3 separate regions of the Homo sapiens genome follow, and regions 1 and 2 are each linked to region 3. Evidence: promoter capture Hi-C in 16 types of primary human blood cells and fetal thymus (Javierre and others, 2016). All regions are on one chromosome and are shown on one strand. The core of a region is centred on a gene start or on the middle of the fragment in contact, and the rest is flanking DNA. Distances in the headings are between cores, read along the strand shown. Region 1 overlaps UBR4 (ubiquitin protein ligase E3 component n-recognin 4). Region 2 overlaps UBR4 (ubiquitin protein ligase E3 component n-recognin 4). Region 3 holds the start of HTR6 (5-hydroxytryptamine receptor 6).

Region 1 (4,129 bases), core at 1,622-4,121, 550 kb before region 3:
GTGGAGGCCTGGTAGTTTTCATAGAAGTCTGCAAACTCAATCATCAGATTGGAGGCCACAATGGGCAACGGCAGGTCAATCTTCACCTCTGTCTGTCCAGGGGTCAGCTGAACCTTCTTGGCTTTGTGCCAGCGAGCTGGCCTAGGAAAGACAGACAGCCTTGAGATTTTCTCATCTAACCCTCAGTGATAACAGTCTGATGAGACAAAGAGGAAGACTGTCCCATGTATTTTTCTAAGGCAATTAAGTGGTTACTCTAAGGAAAAGAAATCTGGCATATAATAGGAAGCCAGTTTTAAAAAAGTTTTCTACTACCTTTTCTCTATAAAAAAAGGAAAGAACATACAAGTGCTTTAAGCTGTTATACATGATACCTTTTGAAATTCCAGGAAAACAACAGAAGTATATAACAAGGGAAACCATGACTCCAAAAGCATGCCACACTGAAGCCTGTAAGAGGTGCAATGATGATGCATGCCAAGTTCCCATCCTGACAGCAACCTTGGAAAGATAAACCCAGGCTATTTTAGAGAGGCAGAGGAAGAAAATCAGGGTCTGAACCAAGTGCTAAGTCAAGTCATAAAGAGGAAGGTATGTAATAATTTTGGGGTGATTATATAACACAATGAGAGCTAATATTTACTGAGTACTTACTATGTACTAGGCTCTGTTCTCAGCACCTGACACATACTAACTCATTTAATCCTTAAACCCTGGAAGTGGGGTCCTACCTCCATTTTATAGTTACAGAAACTGAGGTTAAGCAGCTTCTCTAAGGTCACAGAGCTATGTAGCAGAGCTGGGATCTGAACCCAAATAGTCTACCAGTAGCTCTGCTGACTCCACACAATGAAAAATCAAACCCACCTCCTCTGGAGGGGAATGGGCCACCCTAATGTGCAGCATCTACTTTCAGGTCACCAAGGTTAAACTAGGCTTTTCAAGGCAAGAAGAGAAAACCTCCCTAGGCAGCCTTCATGGCCACGTGTTGCTGTGGTACATGAGCCTTATTCTGCCTCTTGGAATAACAGCAATACTTCCATCCTGTGTGCAGAACAGCTCTGTAAGTCTTACTATTCAAGTAGTGTCAACCTGTGTTCTCCCTTCAGTAGCAATGCCTGAGAGTTCAAAAAAAGGCGATCTGTCTCTGTGAAAGTCAACACTATAACCCATGTGAGTGCCTCTCTTGGCCTAAATATGACATGCCCTGGTTCAGTCACTGGGATACATGGGCTAGGAAGATCCAGTATCAGCAGATACAGAGAAAAGGCACCATGTGGAAATCGAAGAGTGTGTGTACTAAAGAAGCTTCTTGAGAAATAACTTTCTGCCCTGTGAGCAAGAGCATAGCTGTCTTAATCCAAGAAATGACAATTACTTCCCAATACAGAAGGTTTTATCTAAGTCTAGACCTTTGTGTAAGAATAGTTAAAATGGGCATGAGAAGCCTGGAGGTCCCCTCACTCAGCTTCCCCTCCCTAGGCAGGCTGTTGAGGAACTTCCACAGACCCCTATGGCTCCACTGGGCTAATTTAGAAATAATCTTTGTCAACATGCTTAGAACTGTTGTTTCACTTTTGTCCTTTGGTCATGAATGGAGGGGCCAAGAGGATGTATTAGGCCTCTAGGGATGTGCTGCCTTACTCCATTCCAGGAACCGAAGGCAGCAACTGAGCTTCAGCCTTACAACCTGCTGCCCCTCCCGAGGCCTAAAAAGCCCGTACTTGTTTTTCAACTCCACGATGGCCTGCACGGTTCGGTTGTTATAATACAGGTTGATGGTCCGCACCATCTTGGTCCGTTTCAGATCCCCGATTTTCACTGTCACTTTGCTGATGGTGTGACTGCCAATGAGCTTCACAACCTGCTGGGTGGTGGTGTACCGCGTGTCCACTTTAATGGAAGACAGCTTGATATACTAAATACAAGAGTTCACAAAACATGGTATTAGTTCAAGACTCGTACTGCCTTTTTAAAAATTCATCAGTGTAACCCACTCTTCATCCACAAGATGAAGTTTCTATTTAATTTTTTAAAAAATATTTTGTAGAGATGGGGTCTCACCATCTTGCCCAGGCTGGTCTAAAACCCCTGGGCTCAGGGGATCCTCCCATCTTAGCCTCCCAAAGTACTGGGATTATAGGCTTGAGCCACTGCACCCAGCCAAGTTTCTATTTAAGGTAATAAATGTGGCAGATAAAAATTCCTACTATCGGTGACCAACCATTAGGAGAGGAACATCTATGTGATAATGATCCATCTCTGGAAACAAGAATCCCACTGGACCTATTGGCCTCAGGACTGTCCATGTACAGATGTTACTTACACAGAACGGTACTTCCGGGTTATTACACACCAGGCAGGGATCGCTCTCCAGGTAATAGCCATCAAACTCCACTAAGCCAGACAAAGTGCTAAGGAAGAAACCAGTCTTAGCATGAACACATTTTCATCTTAGGAAGCACTGAGTTTCACAAAAAAATCATGACAAAGCCATGGCTCAATGTGAGCCAAAGTGAGCCCAAAGTGAGCCCCACCCTAGTGAGAACTCAAGGACACAGGAGAAATCCCAATAGGGTTACGAAGCCACAGGAAAGAAATTTCAACTAACTGACCTTAGATGTTTCCTAATCTTTGATCTATCCTTCAGAGGAATTCTAAAAAGTAGTAAAATTTGACTCAAGAGTCACAATTAAATTTACTAAAAATCATTGAACTGTACATTTAAAATAGGTTAATACATAAATTATCTCAATAAAGTTTTTTTAAATTTTTTTTAAAGAACAGTCACTACTAAACCAGAGAAATAATAAACTGTCAATTTAACCAATATCCTCTTTTAGAAGTTTTTTTAAAAAAAGGAAGACATTTTCTTTAAATTTGTTTCACCTTATTTAACTTAAACCCTTGAAACTAAAGACCTTTTTTTTTTTTTTTTTTTGAGACAGGGTCTCACTCTGTCACCCAGGCTGGAGTGCAGTGGCGTGGATCACAGTTCATTGCACCCTCGAACTTCTGGCCCCAAGCCATCCTCCTGCCTCAGCCTCCCCAGCAGCTGGGACCACAGGTACACGCCACCACGCCTGGCTAACTTTTTTAAATTTTTTTTTAAGAGATGAAGTCTCACTATGTTGCCCAGGCTATACAGACCTTTCTACATTACTACTCACCAAACCCTGAACTCAGCAATGACATTTTGAGTACCTTCTATTTGCAAGACCCTGGCCTACATGGAGGGGATTGGAATCTCAACTAGGCAGATTCGCTCTTCTCTCAGGCGCTTGTCAATTCCTATGTAAGAGCCTATCACCATGCAAATAACTCCTCAGAATGCTGACTGAGCTTCCCACAGGTAGAAAGCAAAACAAAGCTCACTTATAAATGTTCGAGTTGGGGTGGTTGGTAAGAATATGGTTTTGAGTCCGCAGAATCTCCACAGCCTTCTGTGAATACTCCTTCAACTGAAACAGAATTCAGTAAAGAAACAACTTAAAGCCCAAGGTGAAGTCTTATTGGAAAAGACTTTTGTCTTCTGCATTCTAGCTGAATACTGCCCTAGACCTACCAGACTTCTCAGTCAGAATCATACAAAGCTGGGCCTAATTTCAATCATTTAAATGGATTCTATCTCCTTTAGAAGTTTCCATGAGCTTTAGTGATAGGTAGTACCCTTTTCTGACCTGATGGAGGAAGATCATTTTTATTTTTATGGAGAAGCCATAAAATGGTTAGCTAATTGCAGAAACATTTTCTGGTATGTATAATCAGGGCTACTAGCAAAACAAGGAGCACTTGCTTTTCCAAGGAACTGTAATGAGTTCTATCTTCTTTCCCCACCTGACCTTGACCTACGTCCTATGTTAAGTTAGATTTGTTAGTGTATACTGTCTACATCACAGACATATTACGAGTGCTTACCAAGAAATGCAAAACTAGATATATTTAAAAGAGGTTTCCTATATGGACTCCCTATATCTGGGTTGTTCATAATATTCTTAACTCAAGAGAAAAAAGGTTAAATATGGCAAGTTGGCCCCTCTGACCATAAAGCAACTGTTACCTTCTTCTCTGTTTGTGGAGTTTTCAGGGAGAAATATCCTAGTAGGTCCACAAACTGGGCAGCCTTACG
Region 2 (4,279 bases), core at 383-2,882, 520 kb before region 3:
ATCTTAAAGCTTTTATTGATATTTGAAACTTCATTCCCTTCAGCTTCCTCTAAATATATTTTATTTCATTAGCTTAGCAAGCTAAAAACAATTTTCCAGATATTCCCTGGCTGCTGCGAGCTCTCTGGGATTGTAATGCTACGTACAGGACACAAGAGCATCTGCATGTAGATCTTGGATGCTGTGTTAATACAATCCAGCTCACAGGTACAGTAGCCATGGATGATGTCCACCAGAGCATTGACAGTAGCTTCAATATGAGTTAGTCCTAAAGGAGAGACAAACATTATTTGAAAATCTGGAGGAAAAAACTCTAACTACTTGAGAGTCTGAGACAAAAGTGTAACCTTTTATCTCCATGTAAAAGGTCATGCAAACAAAATGACAAACACTCACATACACACTCATTCACACACAGTAGCCTGTATTATTTATGATTTGTTTCATTAACAGTTTCCTAAACTCCCAAATTGTCCTCAAAAGTCTTTCCAGATATCTTGAGTCACAGAAATAAGTAGCTGTCCACTCTCTCTGGATATCAAAAGACAAGGCAAGGAAATATGAAGAGGAAGGCAGATACTAAATGTTCCCTAATATCCCCCAACCTCAGGTGATGACAAAACATGACCTTGACTTGCCTTTTAGGTTTACCACCCAAATGTCCTCCAAACATGAATGAGCACCAGGATCATCCTACTTTTCTATATTGCTATTCAGACCCTTTACTCTTCCATCTGAATTTTCAATAGTGTAAGAAGTTAGAGACCAAATAGCTTAGAAATAGAATAATCCTCAAGATACTTGTGCCTTTTGAGCTGGCTTTAAGCCAAGTTGTCAAAGATTTTTAAAAACAATTATAAACCACTGAGACACACACACACACACACACACACACACACACACAGTGCCTCTTTATGTAAAATATTCAACCCCGATGAAAAGATATGGTAGAAGAAAATCCCACTCTGCCACACTGCTAAATTCCTGTCTCAGGAACATTGCATTTATCTCGCAGACTTCTACTTCCCAATTATGAGTTCTGGAAGAAATGGATTATGAAGAATGAAAGCTAATGGCTAACGGTCATAGCTGTTCAAAGACAGAACTTACATCAGGCTTCATTACCAAGATTCAAATATCCCTTTTAACATACCTGGAAGGCAGGCAGGTGCCAAGAAGGCATTCTTGGGTTTGGATGCATGGAGTTTCCAGAAGTGGTTCACAAGCTGGGTGATGAAACTACAGCAATCTCCTTCCAACTGCTTCTGCGGTTCCTTCCCTTCATCCATTCCTTCTAAGCAGGAGAAAGAAAATTATCAACGATGGTAAATCTGAGATGGAATTTAATTTGTTTTAAGGTTAACTCAGGTCAAGGAAGCTTGCCTGGGGAGGGAGTTTCAAGTGGGGCCCCAATCAATATGCCAACTATCCCTAGACTCCAGCAGGCACATCTAGGAAAAAAACAGTCTGGGAAAGGAATATCGCAGAAAACATTGTATGTTAGAATTAAGTAGAACGGGGAGCATTTAGGATGTTTACCGCAGATTCAAAGATCTCAGTTCCAACTGTTCAACTTCTAAAACGTAGAGGAACATCTGAACATTCTAGAGATCTCTCTAGAACAATTCTGGGATTGTAGTATTAAAAGGAGGAACAGAATGATGATGCATATGGGAGCATGTAAATAACACAGAATTGTAAAGGCAGCAATCAACTCAATTTGACAATGACAAAACAGGTTTGCTACCCAGCCAACAGAAGAGGAGATGAGGAAACAGCACTGAGCACTGAGAAAGTTGCTACACATTATTAATAATAGCACTGGCAAAAGAATGGCATGAAAGCGAAAGATATGCCATAGTTGCTTTAAAGCAACCAGGGCCCAACCAAGCTTAGCTTTCCCCTGAAGCTCCTAAGAGGTAATAACTTCAGAGACAGATTATATCTGATGTCTAGAACACTAAATAAACTCAAGGATAATCGAAAGTATAAGCACTGGAAAAAGAATGTGTTTAAAATTGTACAATCTCAATGTCAAAAGGCCCTACAAGGTATAAAGACCAGGAAGCAAAATCCCTGTCTCTGAGCATGCAGTCAGTCAGAGGCCAGTAAGAACAGTAAGAATGAGAGGGTAAATAGGCATATGAAGCAGATCTCAGGACCACGGCCACAGAGGCCAAGTTCACCTGTTTCCATCTGGGGCAGCTTTGACTCCGTAAAGTGGACAAGGTTGTTGGGGCGCATGATGGCAATGGAGCGAGCTGTGATCACTAGCCTCTGGAACACCTCAGGGTCCAAATCCTTGCCCTCTTTGCTAGATGTGTTGAGACACTGCACAGCTTTGCTCAGCAAGGCCTGATCCTGTAAAACAACAGGAGCACAGAGGGTCAGCCATAAGCAAGAGCTGGGTACAAAAGCAAAGAGGAGAGAAAAGCTGGCAGATCACCAGGATTATTACCTCCTCTCAAGAGAACAGGCCAATGAACACCAATCACCTACAACAGATCTTCAAAGCAGCCTCATATAGTTAAGTTTCTTAATACATAAAATATTAATGTCATTAAAAAATAAAAACCCTGCAGTATCAAAGTATGATGGGAAAATTCAAATCTACTCAGTTCTCCAGAACTGCTAGATTTCTTTCTCTTACAATAGAAGAGTCATTTCTTAGCAAATTCATATTACCCAAGGACAGTGTTTCCAAAATTGTCTTTCCTTGAGAGACAGCAGGTTAAACTCACATTTCTCAGTTCTCCGGGTTGGAGGCACAGAAGCTAACCAAAGCTCTGGGTTGATGGCTCCTCTCAGAGCCTTCCTCCTCAGGGGTCTGAACTCTCATCTTTTCCATCTACAGAAATTGGCCCAGTTTGTCTCCTTTGGCAATGCCTTTCTTTTATAAGTGATACCCTCTTTCCCCAGATGTTCCCATCAGAGGCACTCCAAGAACTATTCAACACTTGTCTCACCAACAAGTACAGTACACTTCTCGTGCTGTGCCACACCTGAGGGAGCGAAAACACTAGCAGTCTATTTCCTGAGGGACTCCCTCACCTCACCCTTTTCCAGCGAGAAGGCTACCCACGCTCAATATCCCTCCTTCTCTTTCTTAAGTCTTGTTGATCCTGTTAGAGTGACAGAAAAATAAGTACAAACCAGGGGCCCAGTCACTGGCTTACCCTCGGTTTTGAGTGGCACTTGAGAATTTCTCAGGAGAAACTCTGTAAAATGTAGGTCTAATCTGAATGCTATCCTCCCTCTACCTTACTTTGCTGTGCTGTTGCTTTACAATGAAAAGCTAACTTATTTGATTCCCTGTCAGCACTGCAATTTCCTTTCCCTGAGAGAACAGTTACCTTGTGGCTGTGGTAGGCCGAGCGGCTGGTGTGCAGGCTGGCCAGAAGGCTCTTGGACTGCTGCTGGACACTGGCAGGTGCTGGCAGGGACAACAGCAAAGTGGCCAGCTCCTGAGCAGCATTCTTGTTTCTCTCCTAAGGCAAAAGACAGCAGGGTTATCACTAACCCCACCAACTCAAGGCAGAATGAACTATCTACACTCTGCCTGCCCTTCCTTCCTTCTAGGCCACCAGGGCTAGGTTATGCTCCATGGACTGCAAAGAGAAAAAAAAAAAAGTTTCAGAAATTATAATCCTCCTTCTTACCAGAGGAAGACATGGAATCCAAGCTCATGATTCCCAGAACAGTGTTCTTGTACCAACACGCATCCTATTCTGTGACACACGCTCACTATGGGCCCGAAAAGTAGGACATAGGCCTTAAGCTGAAGACTTCTCTGGAGCTTCTTAGCAAATCAAGATTATGCTACTATAAATGTTCTTTAGCTTCGAGGCCTCAGGGCCTCGGGCAACTCCACTGACTTCCTGCCTCTTCAGAAAGCTTCCATGTGCTTTGAAAAAGTGACTTGCCTTCTCGATGATTGGGCCAACGGCAAAGCAGCTTTCCAGGGCTTCTAAAGAACTCACAACCAGCCTGGGGAGACAGAAAACCTGGCTTGAGTACAACACCGTTCTCTCCGCCTTGCGCTTTAGCCTAAGCAAACTATAGTCATGAGGACCTTGGGGACAGCTAATGAATGCCAAATACAAAATCAAAGCACAATAAGACCTGCCACAGGCACCATGCATATCGTTTCCTACGTTACAGGCCAGGAGAAACCTGGCTCCTGCTCAGAGATCAACCTGAGGCCATGTTCGTAATCCGTAACTCAAAGACAGGGCTTTTCTTCCTCAAAGAGGATAAATGTGCTTCCTTCTGCTGCCTG
Region 3 (4,138 bases), core at 594-3,093:
AAGCTGTGACCCAAGGAGATGGAGCCACTGGCCCTGTAATCCCAGAGCTGGGATGGAGCGGGGATCCCAAGCCATGTGTTTCTGACTCTCTGCCCAGGCTTGCTGTACTACGTTCTGTTCCTTGGGGGCATGGCAGAAATCGTCACAGTGGTGCAGTGTGGTGGCAAGGAGGAAGGACAGGCCTCCTCTATCTGCTTAAAAGATGCTTCTGTGGGCAAGGCTGGGGCTCTGAGCACCAAATAGCAGCTTAGAGTTGGCGGGTGGGTGCTGCAGGCTCTGAGGTGCCTGAGGGGAGGTTTTTGACCATCTGTAATGGGCTCTCTTTGCCATGGGCATCGAGCAGATCTGGGTTTCAGGTCCACTTCACCACTTGCTGCTGGTGATCTGGGGCAAGGCCCTTGGCCTCTCTGAACCCCAGTTTAACGTCTACCTCTCAGCATTATTGTAGGGGTCGGAATAAATAACTGGAGGAGTAGGAACCGTACAACAAAGCCCCTGGGGACAGCGCAGGAGCCTTCGATTTGGAAAGTATTATTTTTCTGTTTCTGTGGAGAAAAAATGATCCCACCCCGTTCTCTTTATACTACATTTTCTTTTTCTCTTTCTCTTCTTTCTTTCTCTTTCTTTCCTTTCTCTCTTTCTTTCTTTCCTTTTTTTTTTTTTTTTTTTTTTTTTTTTTGACAGAGTCTTGCTCTGTCACCCAGGCTGGAGTGTGCAGTGGCACAATCTTGGCTCACTGGAACCTCTGCCTCCCAGGTTCAAGCAATTCTCCTGCCTCAGCCTCCCGAATAGCTGGGATTACAGGCTCCCGCCACCACGCCCAGCTAATTTTTGTATTTTTGATAGAGACGGGGTTTTACCATGTTGGTCAGGCTGGTCTCGAACTCCTGACCTCAGGTGATCTGCCCACCTCCGCCTCCCAAAGTGCTGGGATTACAGGCGTGAGCCACCTCGCTGGGCCCACTTTCTCTGTTGATTATGCTTATTGTTTATTGTCTGTTTCTTCCACTAGAATGTAAGCTCCATGGAGGTGCGGATCTTTGTTTTGGCCACTGTAGTGTCCTGATGGGTCAGAACAGTGCCTGACATCTAGTGGATGCGCCTTAAAAGATGCATTGAAGTATCTGTTCAATGAATGAATGAATAACAGTATTAACCTGCACAGCAGTGTTAGGCAGAGACTCTTCTCAGCCAGAGGGGAGACGTACAGAGGGAGGTCACACCCAGGGGAAACCACACCCCACGCCTCTGCCTGCAGCGACTCTTAACACACCTGGCCTGGGGATTCTCAAATCTGTTCACGCTCTGTTAGACTAGGAGCGCCAACAGCTCAGGGACTTCATCCTTAGTACCTGGCCCCTTTGGGGATCGGGATGGTTTCTGCGGGAAAGGCCCTGGGGAAGGTTAGCTTCTTGCTCAAACTAACGGTGAAGAATGCCCAGAATTACTAACCCATTTTACAGATATGGCAACTGAGGCCCAGAGGGGTGTCAGGCGATTTGTCCAATATTTCCCAACTCCTGGCTCCCCTGAAAGCCCGGTGACCCCGTTGTGAGTGGGCAGGCACCCATTAGAGAGCAGCCCCTGGATAAGGGCAGGTCACAGCCCCCTGCTCCCAGTTCCGCCTGCGCCGCCGCCACGTGTGGGTTGGGAGGGGCATCTGAGGGTGTGGGGGCTGCCACAGCCCGGGAGGTGACCCCTCGCAGCTGGGGCGCTCTGATCTTCGGCCCACAGGCCCGGGGTGCCGGGACCCCGCCCTCCTGCAGGGCCAGGGCTCGGCTCTCCCCGCCCACCGCGAGGCGGGGCGCACGCTCCGCGGCGCGGGGACCGCGCGCTCCAGGCTGCACCCGGCCTCTCCTCCGCGCGTGCGGGCCCCTCGCGGCGCCTCCCGGGCTCGGGAGACCCGGTCCCGCCGCCCGCCCGGCCCGCGGCCGCCTCTTCCTCTCGCAGCCCCGCGGCGCTTGCCGCAGTCGCAGGCGGCGGAGCAGCCAGAGCGCCCCAGGTACCAGTGCGGGCGGGAGACGGAGGCGACCCTGCTGCCGGGTGGGGAGGGGGCGCCGCGCGGCCGCTGCCCTCCTCTTCCCGCGGGGCCTGGCGGCCCCGGCGAACCCCCGCGCCGCACAGGCCGTGTGCGCCGGATCCCGGTGCCTCCGCGCCAGCTGAGACCTGCCTTTCCCAGGGGCGGCTTTGCTCCGGCCCCTAGGCCCCCGCCCTGGTACCCCACACGCCCACCGGCCGCGGGGAGCCTGCTCCGGCCCGAGAGCGCCCATTCACCCCCCTCACCCACCTCCCCGCGTTCCCACTTCCCCGCACTCTGACCCGGCCGGACGCCCCTCCCCTATCTTGCCGCCCGCCCCCTCCAGGGGGCTCTGCTCCCACCCCAGGGAGCCCATCCGACCTCTGCTTGACTTCCCGCCGCTTCCTTCAGGGGCCTCGGCTCATCGGGTGCCCCTCCCCAAACTTCCAACCCGTTTGCTCCAGGAGTTCCTGCCCCATCCCCGAGGGCGCCCAAATAGCCACACTGTGTCCTCCTGTAGTCGCTGCCCCCTGACCTAGCGCGACCCAGCGCCCCCGCCCATGTCCCCCCACTCACCTCCCCCGGGGGGCGTGGTGAGTCGCGGTCTGTTCTCACGGACGGTCCCCGTCCAGCCTGCGCTTCGCCGGGGCCCTCATCTGCTTTCCCGCCACCCTATCACTCCCTTGCCGTCCACCCTCGGTCCTCATGGTCCCAGAGCCGGGCCCAACCGCCAATAGCACCCCGGCCTGGGGGGCAGGGCCGCCGTCGGCCCCGGGGGGCAGCGGCTGGGTGGCGGCCGCGCTGTGCGTGGTCATCGCGCTGACGGCGGCGGCCAACTCGCTGCTGATCGCGCTCATCTGCACTCAGCCCGCGCTGCGCAACACGTCCAACTTCTTCCTGGTGTCGCTCTTCACGTCTGACCTGATGGTGGGGCTGGTGGTGATGCCGCCGGCCATGCTGAACGCGCTGTACGGGCGCTGGGTGCTGGCGCGCGGCCTCTGCCTGCTCTGGACCGCCTTCGACGTGATGTGCTGCAGCGCCTCCATCCTCAACCTCTGCCTCATCAGCCTGGACCGCTACCTGCTCATCCTCTCGCCGCTGCGCTACAAGCTGCGCATGACGCCCCTGCGTGCCCTGGCCCTAGTCCTGGGCGCCTGGAGCCTCGCCGCTCTCGCCTCCTTCCTGCCCCTGCTGCTGGGCTGGCACGAGCTGGGCCACGCACGGCCACCCGTCCCTGGCCAGTGCCGCCTGCTGGCCAGCCTGCCTTTTGTCCTTGTGGCGTCGGGCCTCACCTTCTTCCTGCCCTCGGGTGCCATATGCTTCACCTACTGCAGGATCCTGCTAGCTGCCCGCAAGCAGGCCGTGCAGGTGGCCTCCCTCACCACCGGCATGGCCAGTCAGGCCTCGGAGACGCTGCAGGTACCTGGGGTGCGCAGGGAGACCCGGGCTGTGGGATAGAGAGGAATGAGCAGCCCCTGGGGACCCCCTGGGCATCCCCACTTAGCACACATTTGCTCATGGCCCTGCGTGGCTGTTGTGAGCGCCCACCTTTCTTCTGAACTCCAGAGCCAATGCCTGACCCACCCACCACAGGATAGCTCCGTCAGGATTTGGGGGCAGGCTTCTCCCAGGTACCATGTACAACAGGGAATTTATGGTGGCCCAACTCTCCCCATCTTTGCCTCCCTGGTCTTCCCCATCATGGCAAATGGCACCATTGCGGCATCACATGCCAGGAACTTAGGAATACTTTTCTCCCTCACCCTCATGCCATTCATTAGCGAGACCTGTTGGCGCTGCTCTAAACAGGTGCCATCTCCCCTGCCACTTCCTACCGGGGAGGCTGTGTAGACTTCTCCTGGCTCCCCTGCTTCTGCCGCAGACCCAGTACTCTCCATCTTCTGCATAGAAGCTGGAGCACTTAAAAAAGAAGTGATCATGTCACTCCCCTGCTTCAGACTCTTCAGGCTTCCCACCGTGCTCCAGATAAAGAAAACCTGTCTCAGGATCTGGCCTCAGGATCCCACACTGCCATCCTCTCCAGTGTCACCTCCCCTCTCCCTCTCTCTTACTCTGCAACAGCCTTGTGGCCTTTCTCACGGTTCTAGAAGGCACTGGGCT

The links. The method cuts DNA at HindIII sites, captures the fragments that hold promoters and counts their contacts. A CHiCAGO score of 5 or more calls a contact.
Region 1: a contact is called between a fragment that was not itself captured here and the fragment with the promoter of HTR6 in region 3, in 1 of 17 cell types (activated CD4 T cells). The highest score is 5.8, in activated CD4 T cells.
Region 2: a fragment that was not itself captured here is called in contact with the fragment with the promoter of HTR6 in region 3 in 1 of 17 cell types (naive B cells); the score reaches 5.8 in naive B cells.

Annotation. Positions count from the first base shown.
Region 1 is chr1:19,115,497-19,119,625 of GRCh38, forward strand. UBR4 (ubiquitin protein ligase E3 component n-recognin 4) reads right to left here. Exons shown (of 106, transcript NM_020765.3): 70 at 4,061-4,129; 71 at 3,376-3,461; 72 at 2,327-2,414; 73 at 1,725-1,918; 74 at 1-141. Among named protein-coding and RNA genes, the nearest start is that of UBR4, 93 kb to the right of the region's middle. RefSeq lists an enhancer at 4,060-4,129. The HindIII fragment of the contact is 3,131 bases long and covers 1,307-4,129 here.
Region 2 is chr1:19,144,640-19,148,918 of GRCh38, forward strand. UBR4 (ubiquitin protein ligase E3 component n-recognin 4) reads right to left here. Exons shown (of 106, transcript NM_020765.3): 50 at 3,924-3,987; 51 at 3,354-3,488; 52 at 2,187-2,361; 53 at 1,154-1,294; 54 at 147-268. Among named protein-coding and RNA genes, the nearest start is that of UBR4, 63 kb to the right of the region's middle. The HindIII fragment of the contact is 513 bases long and covers 1,377-1,889 here.
Region 3 is chr1:19,663,032-19,667,169 of GRCh38, forward strand. HTR6 (5-hydroxytryptamine receptor 6) reads left to right here and starts at 1,844. Exons shown (of 3, transcript NM_000871.3): 1 at 1,844-3,436. The coding sequence starts at 2,723. RefSeq lists a silencer at 1,658-1,887 and enhancers at 1,666-2,638, 2,639-3,609. The HindIII fragment of the contact is 8,359 bases long and covers 1-4,138 here.